Linked DNA regions of Homo sapiens: region 2 is linked to region 1. Evidence: promoter capture Hi-C in human tissues and cell types (Jung and others, 2019). All regions are on one chromosome and are shown on one strand. The core of a region is centred on a gene start or on the middle of the fragment in contact, and the rest is flanking DNA. Distances in the headings are between cores, read along the strand shown.

Region 1 (7,663 bases), core at 2,338-4,837:
TCATCGGCAGGAGGGGATAGGAGGCATTCATTGCTCCTATCCGAGGTCTCGCTTGTTTTGTGACTTGTGACGCACAGCATCCCAGCTGGGACACGCAAATGTAGATGCCAGACACGCGGCAGAAACAAGGCTTCAAGAATGGGACTCCTCCTGACTATGCACCAATGCCTAAAAAGTCATTTCTTCTGTTTCATTTCCCTCCTCCTCCTCTTCCTTCTCCTCCTCCTCCTCTTCCTCCTCTTCTTCTTCTTTCTTCTTTCTTCTTCTCTTTTCCTTTTTCAGACAGAGTCTTGCTCTGTCACCCAGGCCGGAGTACAGTGGCACAATCTCGGCTCACTGCAGCCTCTGCCTCCCGGGTTCAAGTGATTCTCATGGCTCAGCCTCCCGAGTAGCTCGGATTACAAGCGTGTACCACCACCCCCTGCTCATTTGTTTTATTTTTAATAGAGATGGGGTTTCACCATGTTGGCCAGGCTGGTCTGGAACTCCTGACCTCAGGTGATCCACTTGCTTTGGCCTCCCAAAGTGCTGGGATTAACAGGCGTGAGCCACCGTACCTGGCCCTTGTCTTTTTTTTTTTTTTTAAGAGAGGGTCTCACTCTGTCGCCTAGGCTGGAGTGCGGTGGTGCCATCATAGCTCATTGTAGCCTCCAACTCCTGGGCTCAAGCGATCTTCCTGCTTCAGCCTCCTGAGGAGATGGGACTGCAGGCGCATGCCACCATGCCTGGCTAATTTTAAAATTTTTTGTATAGATGGGGTTTCACCATGCCAAGGTTGGTCCTGAATTCTTGGCCTCAAGCAATCTTTCTGCTTTGGCCTCCCAAAATGCTGAGATCACAGGCATGAGCAGTGGCTTACCCCACCTGGCTTAAAAAAATATAGATAGATAGGTGGATAGATAGATAGATAGATAGATAGATAGATAGATAGATAGATGAGGCTGGGACGGAGGCTGAGATCCTGGAGGCAGAGGTTGGAAAACCAGGAGTTCTCATGTCCCAGGGCAGAAGAGTGTCTCAGCTCCAGGAGAGAGAGAGACCATCTGCCACTTTCTTTCTTTCTTTCTTTTTTTTTTTTTAGAGGGAGTCTCGCTCTGTCACCCAGGCTGGAGTGCAGTGGCGCGATCTTGGCTAACTGCAACCTCCGCCTCCCAGGTTCAAGCGATTCACCTGCCTCAGCCTCCCGAGTAGCTGGGACTTATAGTCCCAGGATGGTCTCGATCTCTTGACCTCGTGATCCGCCTGCCTTGGCCTCCCCAAGTGCTGGGATTACAGGCATGAACCACCGTGCCCGGCTGCATCTGCCACTTCTAATCCATCATCAGGGTGGTCTGGTGGCCTTTGCCTCCTAAGCACTCCTGTTCCCTCTTCTGGTCCCCACCTCAGCCATCCCCCACCCCACCCCCCAGCCCTCAGCCCTGCCATGGCCTCTGAAGGCATCTACTTATAACCCTCTGGTCCTCCCCAGTGGAAGTGGCGAAATAAATTAGATGGAGTCAGCAACACCTGTAATCTCCCCACTTTGGGAGGCTGAGGCGGGCAGATCACCTGAGGTCAAGGAGTTTGAGACCAGCCTGGCCAACATGGTGAAACCCCATCTCTACTAAAAATACAAAAATCAGCTGGGCATGGTGGTGCACGCGTGTAGTCCCAGCTACTTGGGAGGCTGAGGCACGAGAATCGTTTGAACCCGAGAGGCAGAGGTTGTAGTGAGCTGAGATGGCGCCACTGCACTCAAACCTGGGCGACAGAGTAAGACCCCGTCTCAAAAAAAAAAGAAAAAAAGGTGAAGTCCTTTGTCTTTTTCCCACTTCTGGTCCTAGCTCCCTGGGGGCAGAGGGAGTGGGTGGGGTTATCTTCTGAATGTTCAGCAGGATCTCAAATAAAGCATTACTGTATTAATAAAAAGGAATAGGGGCTGGGGCTTGGGAAGGAGGGTGAAGTGTGTGTGCAAACGAAGGGCCTTCTCTTGGATCTGGGGACCAATCCTAGGGTTCCTCAGGTGCCGCTGGCATGTCTTTCACATGGAAGCCTGTCTTCCCTCCATCAGCCCCCCGGGGTTCCAAGCCTCCCATAGGGTGGTTGGTTTTCCAAAGCCCAGAACCTGGGCCAGGTCTCCTACGGGAGAAAGCTGGAATTTGTACTCGGGAATCCAGCCACCAGATGCAAATGACCCTGTCATGGCGGTCAGGAGGGTCCTCAGAGTCATGAAGTCTTGGGGGAAGAGGGTTTTCCCAGAGGCCCTGACCCTTCCCGGGCAGGTCCCATAGGGGCCCTTGTGCCTAGCAGGGACGTGGCAGTAGGGAGCCAGGCAGTGGGGGGAGCAAGCAAGCCACAGGCAGGCGGTAGGTGCTGGGCCCAGCTACACTGGGGACGACGGGCACAGTGTCCGCTGTCCTTCCAGCCAAGTTGGGGCCAGCGGGGTCGGTCCAGCCCTGTCTAGCCCTGGAGGGCTTTTTTCTCCTCACTGGAAAAAGTACTGGTGGAGGATACCTGGGAAAAAGGGGCTGGATTGGGAAGTCCCCTATCCACTTCCTACTCCCTCCACCCCCCACCAACCTCACTTTCCAGTCCCCCTACCCTCGGGTCCCCCACTCCCCACCAACTCCTCCACTTCCCACTCCCTCCACCCCCAGGTCCCCCGCTCCCTCCAACACCCCCACTTCCCACTCCCCCCACCCCCAGGTCCCCCACTCCCTCCAAGACCCCCATTTCCCACCTCCACCAACCTCGGAGTCCCTCTCTTCCCACTAACCCCCTCACTCCCCCCCCAACACCCCGACTTCCCACTCCCTCCACCTCCAGTTCCCCTTCTTCCCACCAACCCCCCACTTCCTCCACCCCCAGGTCCCCCACTCCCCCCAACCCCCCACTTTCCACTCCCTCCACCCCCCAACACCCCCATTTCCCACTCCCTCCACCCCCAGGTCCCCCACTCCCCCCAACTTCCCCCACTTTCCACTCCCTCCACCCCCAGGTCCCCCACTCCCCCCAACCCCCCACTTTCCGCTCCCCCACCCCCAAGTCCCCCACTCCCCACCAACGCCCCCACTTCCCACTCATCCCACGTCCATTCCCACTCTCCTTACCCCCCACTTCCCACTTCCCCCAACCCCTCCAGCACCCCCTGTTCCCACTCCCGTCCCCTTCCCACTCCCCGACTCCCTCAGCCCCGCAACTTTGCATTCCACCCACCTGGCGCCCCCGCCTTCCCAATCCTTCCCACTCCCCCTACTACCACTTCCCGCTCCCCACCCCACCAACCCCCCACCTCCTGGCTTCCAGGGAGGGCACCGGGAAAAGGGGCCGGGGCCAGGGCCGCCCCAGGCCTGGGCGATGGGTGGCTCGCGCGCGCAGCCAGGACCCCCCCCGTCCCGCCCCCACTCCTTACGCCCACTTCCTCACCCCCACCTCTCCCACCCCCCCATCTCCCCACGACCCTCCTCCACCTCAGCGGAGGCGGCGGGGTCGCGGGAGGGAGGGGGCCGGGCTTAGGCGATTGGCAGCGCGAGCCCGGGAGCCCCCCCGTGCCCCCGCCCGCCCCGCCCCCGCCACCATCTGCTCGGGATTTGGCGTCGGCGGCTCCGGGCGCCTCCAGCTCCGGCTCGGGCTCCGGCTCCGGCTCCGGGCGCCGACCAGGTCCCCTTGGCCCCCGCCGCGCGCCCTCCAACCTGCTGCTGCCGCCGCCGCGCCCCCCAGGCTCTGCCAGCTACCCGCGCTCTGAGCCCGGGGCCAGATTCCCATGGAAGCGCCGCGATGTTCGCCCCCCGGCTGCTGGATTTCCAGAAGACGAAATACGCGAGGTGAGCGGCGGCCGCGGAGGTCCGCGGGGAGGGAGGGAGGGGCGCGCGGCGGCGGGGGCCGCGGAGGCCACCTTGGTTCTCGGGCCCCGCCGCCCGGAGCGCTAGAGGGGATCGGCGGACCCCTGACCCCCGCCCGAGAAAACCAGGACCCAGGCAGCCTCGTCTTCTCGCTGGGATGGAGTAACCGGGGCGCCCGCGCCTCCTCGCTGGGTGCCATTGGGCAAGTCGCTTCACTTCTCTGAACCTCATTTCCACGTTTGCAAAACGGGGGTTATGCGAGTCCCCGTGTCCTGGGTCGCCGTGAGGATTAAGCGAGCTGGTCCTTGCAGAGCACTTTGCGCAGCGCCTGGAGCCCAGGCCAGCTACGCTCGGGCAGTTACGCTCGGTCTCTCTTGGGCACTCTTGTTCATGGTAAAAGGCGTTGGTACCACCTCTGTCCACCCTTCCAGCAAGTCGGAGGAAAGAGTAAGTGCTCTTTTCAGATGGAGAAACTGAGGCTCGGGGTGCGGTGGGGGGAGGCACCTGTACATCCTGGTCTTTTCATAGTGTGAACTCCGTGGTCCCCTCAGAACCTCCGTCTCTTTTGTAAAATGGTGATTAACAGACATTGTGATATCTGAGTAGAAGTTAGGCTCCTGTTGCTTGGAATTCCAGTGAAGAAGGTGGGCGTGGGGAGGGGGTTTCTCCTTTTACATATCTTTAAGATTTTGTTGGGAGATGTGCTTGCCTGGAAGCTGGCATGAAAAATCCCCTCCTAAAGTTGCTCCTCGGTCCCCAGTGGTCTTCGGCGAGCACAGACCCGTCTGCTGGGAGCAGCCCGCGGGGGCCTCTTTGGAGGGGGCACCAGGCTGTCCTCCAGGTCACCTTTCCCCCTCTGCCACCTGGGGTCCCCTGCCTTCGTGAACAGAGGGGCCTGGTGTGTGCTGAGGCTCCAGTGGGTGGTGAGTGGGAGATGGGCTGGCAGTATTCTTCCTACTCACATCAGTGTGGCTTGTCACTTGCAACTGGTTGTTGAGAGTGCCCTGGTGCTCCTGAAGTCTCCACAAGTTCTGGTCATATTGAGCACAGCTTGACAAGAGGAGCTCAGGGCTAGGATGGTGTCCAGGGTAGGGAAGGCTGGCGGACAGGACGGAACCCTTCCTTCCCCCTCAGTCTCACCCTCTGTTTCCCCCTGGGGGACATGATGAGTCTATCTCTCCTAAATGGGGAATCCCACCCAGAGATGTGATGCACTTGGGAAGGACTTGAGGATAAGTTCCTGCGGATTGACTCTGTTGACCAGATTGTGTGACTGGACTGGACTTACTTTTTTTTTTTTTCTGAGATGGAGTCTCGCTCTTGTTGCCCAGGCTGGAGTGCAATGGCATGATCTCGGCCCACTGCAACCTCCACCTCCTGGTTTCAAGCGATTCTCCTGCTTCAGCCTTCCGAGTAGCTGGGACTACAGGCACCTGCCACCATGCCCGGCTAATTTTTTGTATTTTTAGTAGAGACTGGGGTTTCACCGCGTTAGCCAGGATGGTCTCAATCTCTTGACGTCGTGATCCCCCCGCCTCGGCCTCCCAAAGTGCTGGGATTACAGGCATGACCCACCGCCCCCGGCCTTTGTTTTTTTTCTTTGAGACAGGGTTTTGCTCTGTCACCCACACTAAGGCTGGAGTGCAGTGGCACAATCATGGTTCACTACAGCCTCAAATTCCTGGGCTTGAGCGATCCTCCTGCCTCAGCCTCAAGTAGCTGGGATTCCAGGTATGGACCACGACAATACCCAGATAATTTATATATATATATATATATTTTTTTTTTTGAGACAGTCTCACTCTGTTGCCGACTCTGGAGTGCGGTGGCGTGATCTCAGCTCACTGCAACCTCCACCTCCCGGGTTCAAGTGATTCACCCGCCTCAGCCTTCCGAGTAACTGGGACTACAGGCGCCTGCCACCAAGCCTGGCTAACTTTTGTATTTTTAATAGAGGCGGGGTCTTGCCATGTTGCCCAAGCTGGTCTTGAACTCCTGGGCTCAAGTGATCCTCTCACCTCGGCCTCCCAAAGTGGGCACTTGGACTTGTAAAGGCTGGCTCCAGGGGATTTTGTGAGACGTAAGTTGGTGGACTGTTCACGGGAAAGAGAGAAACCCTGGGTTTAAGGCTGCCGACGTGGACATGAAGGGAAGGAGCTCTGAAGTCTCAGCAACCAGCCCGGGCCTGTCCCACACCTGCTGTGTGACCTTGGTAGATGTCTCAACCTCTCTTGACCCCAGTGGGTTGATGTGTAAAGTCATGAGAGCTGGTCTAAATGGTCTCTAGATTTGGACACTTGCGCTGGCTGCTCTGGAATTGGAATAGGGATCTGGAGCTGGAGCACGGGCCAGTCTTTCATGCTTGGGCCAATGCAGCTTCTATGGGTGATGGGTCCAGGGAGGAAATGGATCGCATGGATTAGTTCTATTTCTGTTCCCTTCCTCGTTGTGCAGTCTTTACAACTGTACAGTCCACAAATTAGGTCTGTAGTAAAGGCTTCTTGATTAAGTGATTTTTTTTTTTTTTAAAGATAGGATCTACTCTATCACCCAGGCTGGAATGCAGTGGTGTGATCATAGCTCACTGCAGCCTCAAACTCCTAGGCAAACATGATTCTCCTGTCTCAGCCTCCTGAGTAGCTGGGACTACAGGTGTGCACCACCATGCCTGGCTAATTAAAAAAAAAGTATCTGTAAAGATGGGGTCTCACTATGTTGCCCAGGCTGGTCTTGAGCACCTAGGCTCAAGTGATCCTCCTGCCTCAGCCTCCTGAAGTGTTGGGATTACAGGCATGAGCCACTGCACCCAGCTGATTGAATGAATTTAATGGTATAATCCAGGGCTGTCCATGAGTAATATACAAGCCACAGATGTGGCTTTATTTTATTTATTTAGTTTTGAGTTGGAGTCTCACTCTGTCACCCAGGCTGGAGTGCAATGGCGCAATCTCTGCTCACTGCAACCTCCGCCTCCCAGGTTTAAGCGATTCTCCTGCCTCAGCCTCCCAAGTAGCTGGGACTACAGATGCCCGCAACCACGCCTGGCTAATTTTTGTATTTTTAGTAGAGGTAGGGTTTCACCATATTGGCCAGGCTGGTCTCGAACTCCTGACCTCAAATGATCCACCCACCTTGGCTTTCCAAAGTGCTGGGATTAGAGGAGTGAGCCACCACGCCCGGCCAGCTTTAAATTTTCTAGTAGACACTCAGTTTAATGTGTGCCTAATATTCCATCTTGTTATAAGAAAGTAAAAATAAACAGGTGAAATTATTATAATTTTTAGAATATATTTTAGTTAACTCTTTATATCCAAGGCATTATTATATCAGTATACAATGAATATGAACAAATTATTTAGGAGATATTTTACATTTTTTTCCCCACAAGTCTTCATCTAATGTGCATTTTATACTTACAGCCCGTCTGAATTTGGGCTAGTCAATTCCAAGTGCTCAATAACCACATGTAGATTGTGTCTACCGTATTGGTATCTTCTGTGGTGAGAGATGGGTATTCCAAATTAAATTCTGTGTGACATTGTAAAAAATGCTGTCCTTCTTGGAGTCTCTGTTTCTCAGCGGGTGGTAGGCCAGCTAACCCCCTAGGTTCTAACCTAGAGTCTTTGATGTAAGTAACCACCTGGTCACCTGGAATGGCTTTTCTACATCAAGAAACATTCATATCATAAAGCTGTAAGAATTAAGACAGTATGGTGTTGGTGCATGGCTGGGCAAATTGACGAATGGAGCAGAATAAAGAGGCCTGAAATAGATTCATGCATGTAAAGGTGTTTTAAGCTGTGTGTGGTAGCACGTGCCCGTAATCCCAGCTACACCTGAGG
Region 2 (6,781 bases), core at 2,251-4,750, 93 kb before region 1:
AAATGAAACATAATCAAACAAAATCCAGTACCAGATTAAAAACATAATATACAATAGCCAAATGGGACTTATTCCAATAATATAGACTAGTTTAATATTTGGAAATCTATTAATATGATAAGCCACTATAACACAGCAAAGAAGAAAAATCTTGTATCCGTGAAGATACCTGAAAAAGCTTGACAGAAAAAGCTGATTTAAAAAAACAAACTAAAGAAAATAGAAACTGATGGATACTTCATTAACATCAATAACATGTATATACACAAATATAAATATTGCACCCTAATATGCAATAGTATGTATGATATATATGTGACATATGTATTTCAATTACACACAAGCACATATATATACAGTTTGTGTGTATATACACGCACGCACACACACACACACACACACACACACACACACATTTATGCCTCAGTCTTCTCGGTCCAAAAGTCAGGATTTTACTTAACAGGGAAAAACTACATACCTTCCTACTAAGATCAAGAACAAGGTATTAATAAAATGCTCATTATCTACAATTAGAGAAGATAAAACAATTAGAGGAATATAACTAAGAAAAAGTAAAAGTGCTCGGGCACGGTGGCTCACGCCTGTAATCTCAACACTTTGGGAGGCCGAGGCGGGCAGATCACCCGAGGTCAGGAGTTCAAGACCAGCCTGGTCAACATGGTGAAACCCCCATCTCTACTAAAAAACAAACAAACAAAAAAAATTAGTTGTATTATTAAGGTCAACTTACCCTACCTAGGGTAAGTCAGTTACCCTAAATTACTTTATAAATATGCAACCCCAGTAAAAATACCAAAAAGCTTTTTCCTGGAACTAGATAAGCTGACACTACAGTTCATATGAGGTGGAAGAAAATCAAAAACAGCTCAGGGAAAAACACCATTTGGACATGGACAAAACTGGATCCAGGCCAGGTGCAGTGGCTCATGCCTGTAATCCCAGCACTCAGGAAACTGAGGCAGAAGGACTGCTTGAGGCCAGGAGTTTGAGACCAGCCTTGGCAACATAGCAAGACCCTGTCTCTACAAAGAAAAAAATATATATATTAGAAAAAATATATATAGAGAGAGACATGAGGACTTCTGCCCTCAGTTGTGATAAACTAACAGGTACTGGATATACCCTCCAACCTGAAATGGCACATAACAAAGAACAGCAGCAACAACAAAATCAAAAACAGAAAGAAAAATAAAACGGAGAACATATATGAAGCAATGGTTTTTTTTTTTTTTTTTGAGGCAAAGTCTCACTCTTGTCTTCTAGGCTGGAGTGCAATGGCACAATCTTGGCTCACTGCAACCTCCGTCTCCCGGGTTCCAGCGATTCTCCTGCCTCAGTCTCCCAAGTAGCTGGGATTACAGGCGTGTACCAGCATGCCTGGCTAATTTTTGTATTTTTAGTATAGAAGGGGTTTCACTATGTTGGCCAGGCTGGTCTCAAACTCCTGACCTTGTGATCTGCCCTCCTTGGCCTCCCAAAGTGCTGTGATTACAGGTATGAGCCACCACGCCCGGGCTGAAGCAATGGTTTTCAAGGCACTGATTATCAGGCAGTAGAGTTATCTATGAGTGATGGGAAATAAACAAGGTGAACCAATCAACTTCTGCCTTGAGTGTTTCCAGGCCACAGAGCAGGGAAGAAGAACAGAGACAGATGTGAGGTGTAAGAGTTGCGAGATGGGAAAATGGGCAGGAAATTACAACCATAAGGAAGAAAAGAATCAGTCCATCAAAACTGGCCCAGAATTGACAGAGTTTACAACCCACACAGAGCACTGAGAGAGTTCATCATTCTATTCCACATGTTCAAAAAAATTGAGACAGGCAAGATGTAAAAAAGACCCACGCTAACCTTCTACAGATAGAAACTACAATATCTGAGATGAAAATTATACTGGACAAGATTAACAGCATCGTGGAAAAAAGAGATTAGTGAATATAAAGACAGCAACAGAAGTTACATAAAATGAAACAGAGAAAAAAGAATTAAAAGCAAATAAAGAGCAACAGTGTGTTGTGGGAAAATTTCAAGTGGCCTAATATACAGGCAACAAGAATCAATGGAGGGGAGGTGGTGGGTATGTGAAGAAATAATGATAAAAATGTTCCCAAAGTGATGACACCATAAACCCAAGATCCAAGAAGTTCAGTGATCCCCAAAACAGAAACATGAAAAAAATGATACCATGACATATTGCAATCAAATTACCCAAAACTAGTGATAAAAAGTTTACAACATAAGGGGGGAAAGAAAAAAAGACATGTTATATACAGGGGAACAAAGATGAATATGAGATCAGATTTCTCTTAGAAAAAAATGTAAGCAGGAAGACAATAGAGAAACATATTTAAAGCACTGTGGAGAAATATCCAGCAGAAACACCTTTAAAAGCTAAGACACAATGAAGACATTTGCAGACGTACAAGAATTCATCAACTAGAAGAAATGTTAAAGAAAGTCCTTGAGGCAGAAGTAAAATGACAGCAAATAAAAATTTAGATTTACACAAAGGAATGAAGAGTACCAGAAATGGTAACTGTGTATTTTCTCTCATTACTTAAATCTTTTTAAAAGATAACTGGGCTGGGTGTGGTGGCTTACACCTGTAATCCCAGCACTTTGGGAGGCTGAGGCAGACAGGTCACCTGAGGTCAGGAGTTTGAGACCAGCCTGGCCAACATGGTGAAACCTCATCTCTACTAAAAATACCAAAATTAGCCGGGTGTGGTGGTGGGTGTCTGTAATCCCAGCTACCCGGGAGGCTGAGGCAGGAGAATCACTTGAACCTGGGAGGCAGAGGTTGCAGTGAGCCAAGATCGCACCCCTGCACTCCAGCCTGGGGGACAGAGTGAGACTCCAACTCAAAATCAATCAATCAATCAATCAATCAATCAATCAAAGATAACTGTTTAATTAACAACAACGTAATAGATTCTGTGTGGCACTGATACCACCTGTAAAAATAAAATGAACAACGGTGTAAAGACCAAGAGGAGAGAAATGAAAGTATCCTATTGTAAGCTTCTCTTACTCTAAGAAAAATGGTATATCACTTAAGAATAAACTATGATAATTAAAGTTGCATACTATAAATTCTAACTCACTAAAATAACAAAACAGTGTGATAGCTAAAAACTCAACAAAAGATATAAAGTAGAATCATAAAAAATTATCAATTAATCAAGAGGAAGGAAGACAAACAAAGACATTTTAAAAAGAAACAAAGAAGATGAGACTAAAAGAAAGCAAAGGCAATGGACTATAACCTAACTAGTTTTATCAATAATTACATTACATGTAAACAGTCTATACATCCCCAATTATGAGGCAGAAATAGACTGATGAAAACAAGCAAGATCCAAATCTTGCTGCCTACAAGAAATAATACTTTAGATATAAAGATGCAAATACGTTATAAGTAAAAGGATGGAATAAGATATACCATGCATGCATTACTCAAAAGAATGCTACATAAATAACAAAGTACATTTCAGCCTGGAATACTAGCAGGGATAAGGAAGGCCATTTTACAAAGTGGTTAATTAATCAACAGGATGTAATAACCTTGAACATTTATGTATCTAATATAATACATAAAGCAAAAAGTGGTAAAATTGCAAAGAGAAAGAGAACCACAAATGCAGCAGATTTCAATCCCCTCTCCCCAACAATTGATACAAGTAGGCACACAATCAACAAGGATATAATACACCTGAACAACACAACCAACCAACTTGATCTCATTAACATTTATCAAACACTCCACCCAACCAGAGCAGAACAAGCCATCTTCTCAAGCATGCACAGAAGTTTCCCAAGACAGATCCTATTCTGAGCCATAAATTTAAGAGGTCCCATGTAGTGTTCCAGACAAAAATTCACCAACTAAATCTAATCATGAAGAAAGATCAGGGAAACCTAAATTTAAAGACTTCTATAATATCATTGGCCTGTATTCTGCAAATATTATAATGGCACTGAGGAACAAATCCGTATTAAACAGCCTTAAAAAGCATGAAAACTAAAGGCAATTGACAGTCCTAGACTGAATCTTCTACCAAAAATTAAAAATTGCTATAAAGGAAATTATTGGGAAATTGGCAAAACTGGAAAATGAACTACAGTTTAGATAAAAGTATTAAATCAATGATAAATTTCCTGAATTCAATTACTGTGCTATGGGTATTTAATAGAAAGTTCTTGATTTTATGAGATATAATCTAAAACTTTATAAGGTAAAGAGGCATGACAAATCATACCCACTCTCAAACAGTTCAGAAAAAAAATATATAAAAATATGTACACACATATATGTATATATGCATATAAATGATTAATGTGGGAAAATGTTAAGAATGAAGTATCTGAACAAAAGGAAGTAGCTGGGATTTCTTTGTAAAATCCGTGCAATTTTTCTGAAAATTTGAAATGATTTCAAAATAAAATGCTGAACAGAAAATAATGCTATCAAATATATATTGTATGTATAGATTTGCTATCAAATATATCAAATATATTTCAAAAGGACTCAGAAACCAACTTAAAGGGATTTTGTCTGGCCAAAGATGGAGCCATTTAATTTTCAAAAAGAATCACAACTTTGATGTACTGAAATATTTACTATCTGTTTAAACCCACGAGCTCATAATGGTAACAAAACAAAAAAACCTTCCTGCTTAGAAGCCTACTCAACATTTTAGAAACTGTCTTTCCTGCATGAATTACATAACCAAATAGAGAACAGAAATTTATCTTTAGAAAAGTATTCTAGGCCAGCTGTGGTGACTCATGCCTGTAATGCCAACACTGGGAGGTCAAAGAAGAGGATCACTTGAGCCCAGGAGTTCAAGACCAGCCTGGGCAACATAGCAAAACCTGTCTCTACTAAAAATTAAAAAATTCGCTGGGCATTGTGGCACATGACTATACTCCCAGCTACTTGGGAGGCTGAAGTGGGAGGATCACTTGAGCACAGGAGTTTGAGGCTGCAGTGAGCCGTAAACACGACAGCCTGGGTGACAGAGTGAGACTCTGTTTCCAAAAAAAGAAAAGAAAAGAAAGGTATTTTGGCTAGTAAATAAAGAAGAAATGGTAGAATTAGCACATCACCATTTTGCCTCCCCTAATGAACTAGTAAATCACAGCAATAATCAACAGTCAATAGTTCTTAAGTTCACAAAAACAAAGAAGGTAACACATGCCTCCAGAAGTAGACAAATGCCACGTACGGTACAGCTGTGTGAAAAGAATTGAACATAAACCTGATTAGACTTCCAGATCAAACTACCAATTTAACAAGGCATAAAAGATATATTTTTTAAATGTGCTAAAGGTGAAACAAGGGTAACACAATCCAAACTGAGGATAACCAACCCAGTTTCTTCAAAACAATGAGCACGCAAGAGACATAATATAGGAACTATTAAAAGATTTAACCCAATTGCCACATGTATTAAGAGAGTATTATGGGTTATTCCTAGCCCCTTTCAAAAAGATTCCTTATTAGCCAGGTGTGGTGGCTTACACCTGTAATCCTAGCACTTTGGGAGGCCAAAGTGAAAGGATTGCTTGAGGTCAGGAGTTTGAGACCAGTCTGAGCAATACAGTGGGAATACATCTCTAGGCTGGGAGCAGTGGCTCACGCCTGTAATCCTAGCATTTTGGGAGGCCGAGGCGGGCAGACTGCCTGAGCTCAGGAGTTCAAGACCAGCCTGGGTGACATGGTGAAACCCAGTCTCTACTAAAATATAAAAAAATTAGTCGGGTGTGGCAGCTTGCGCCTGTAGCTATGCAGGAGGCTGAGGCAGGAGGATCGTGTGAGCCCAGGAGACTGAGGTTGCAGTGAGTTGTGATCACGTCTCTACACTCCAGCCTGGGTGACACAGCAAGACCCTATCTCAAAAAAAGAAAAAAAGAAACAGAACAAAACAAAACAAAACAGACTTCATCATTTAAAGACAAGCAGAAATACTTACAGACGAATCTTTTTAAAAGCCAAGAAAAGAGAGACTCCATGGAGAAAGTATCAGTTTGGAAGTAACAGATGTCAAAGGCAGACAAAGGGTCCTGGGAGGTAGGGGCTAGGAAATCCCCTCTGGATTTGACTGCAATGAAATCACTGGTAATCTTTACAGACTGACTCAGCAACGTGAAAAGGACAAAACTAAAACACTGAGAACTGAAATGAGAAACAGAAATGAGGAAATCTTCACAAGAGAGTAACTGTATTGTTTGCTGTGCAACCCAAACTGAAAGACGAACAAATATTTGAAGGATGATCATGTCATTCATTCCCCCCATGATCTAGGACTCAACAGTAAAAACAGAATTCTGTCTACTGGGATCACAATGTTTCCTTCCCTGGAAAAATTATATGCACCAAGTTCTCCTTGGGCAGCAGGCAGGCCCTCTGCTTACATAAGCACCAAGAATAAGCCATAAGTTATGGTAACTTAATGGTTGTTATTAGGAAAGCTATCCGCAATTATATCAACTTGAATGAAGAAATTTTTCCAAGTCCTAGAAAATCTTTTAAATCCACAAGTAACAAAGTTGGTTTCTCCTTATAATGAATGCAAATGATGTCATGGATGGTGATATGGTTTCGCTTTGTGTCGCCAACCAAATCTCATGTTCAATTGTAATCCCCAATGTTGGAGGTGGGGCCTGGTGGGAGGTGATTGGATCATGGGGGCAATTTCCCTTTTGGTGCTGTTCTCCTGACACTCAGTGACTTATCACAAGACGTGGTTGTTTAAAA

The links. Contacts are between HindIII fragments. The study calls those that stand out against the background at their distance.
Region 2: a fragment that was not itself captured here is called in contact with the fragment with the promoter of MMD2 in region 1 in 2 of the 25 tissues and cell types used here (IMR-90 fibroblasts and lymphoblastoid cells).

The regions. Positions count from the first base shown.
Region 1 is chr7:4,955,111-4,962,773 of GRCh38, reverse strand. MMD2 (monocyte to macrophage differentiation associated 2) reads left to right here and starts at 3,587. Exons shown (of 7, transcript NM_198403.4): 1 at 3,587-3,803. The coding sequence starts at 3,757. The HindIII fragment of the contact is 48,661 bases long and covers 1-7,663 here.
Region 2 is chr7:5,048,881-5,055,661 of GRCh38, reverse strand. All of the region lies in intron 2 of RBAK-RBAKDN (RBAK-RBAKDN readthrough), which reads right to left. All of the region lies in intron 2 of RBAK (RB associated KRAB zinc finger), which reads right to left. Among named protein-coding and RNA genes, the nearest start is that of RBAK-RBAKDN, 6.4 kb to the right of the region's middle. The HindIII fragment of the contact is 3,136 bases long and covers 1,933-5,068 here.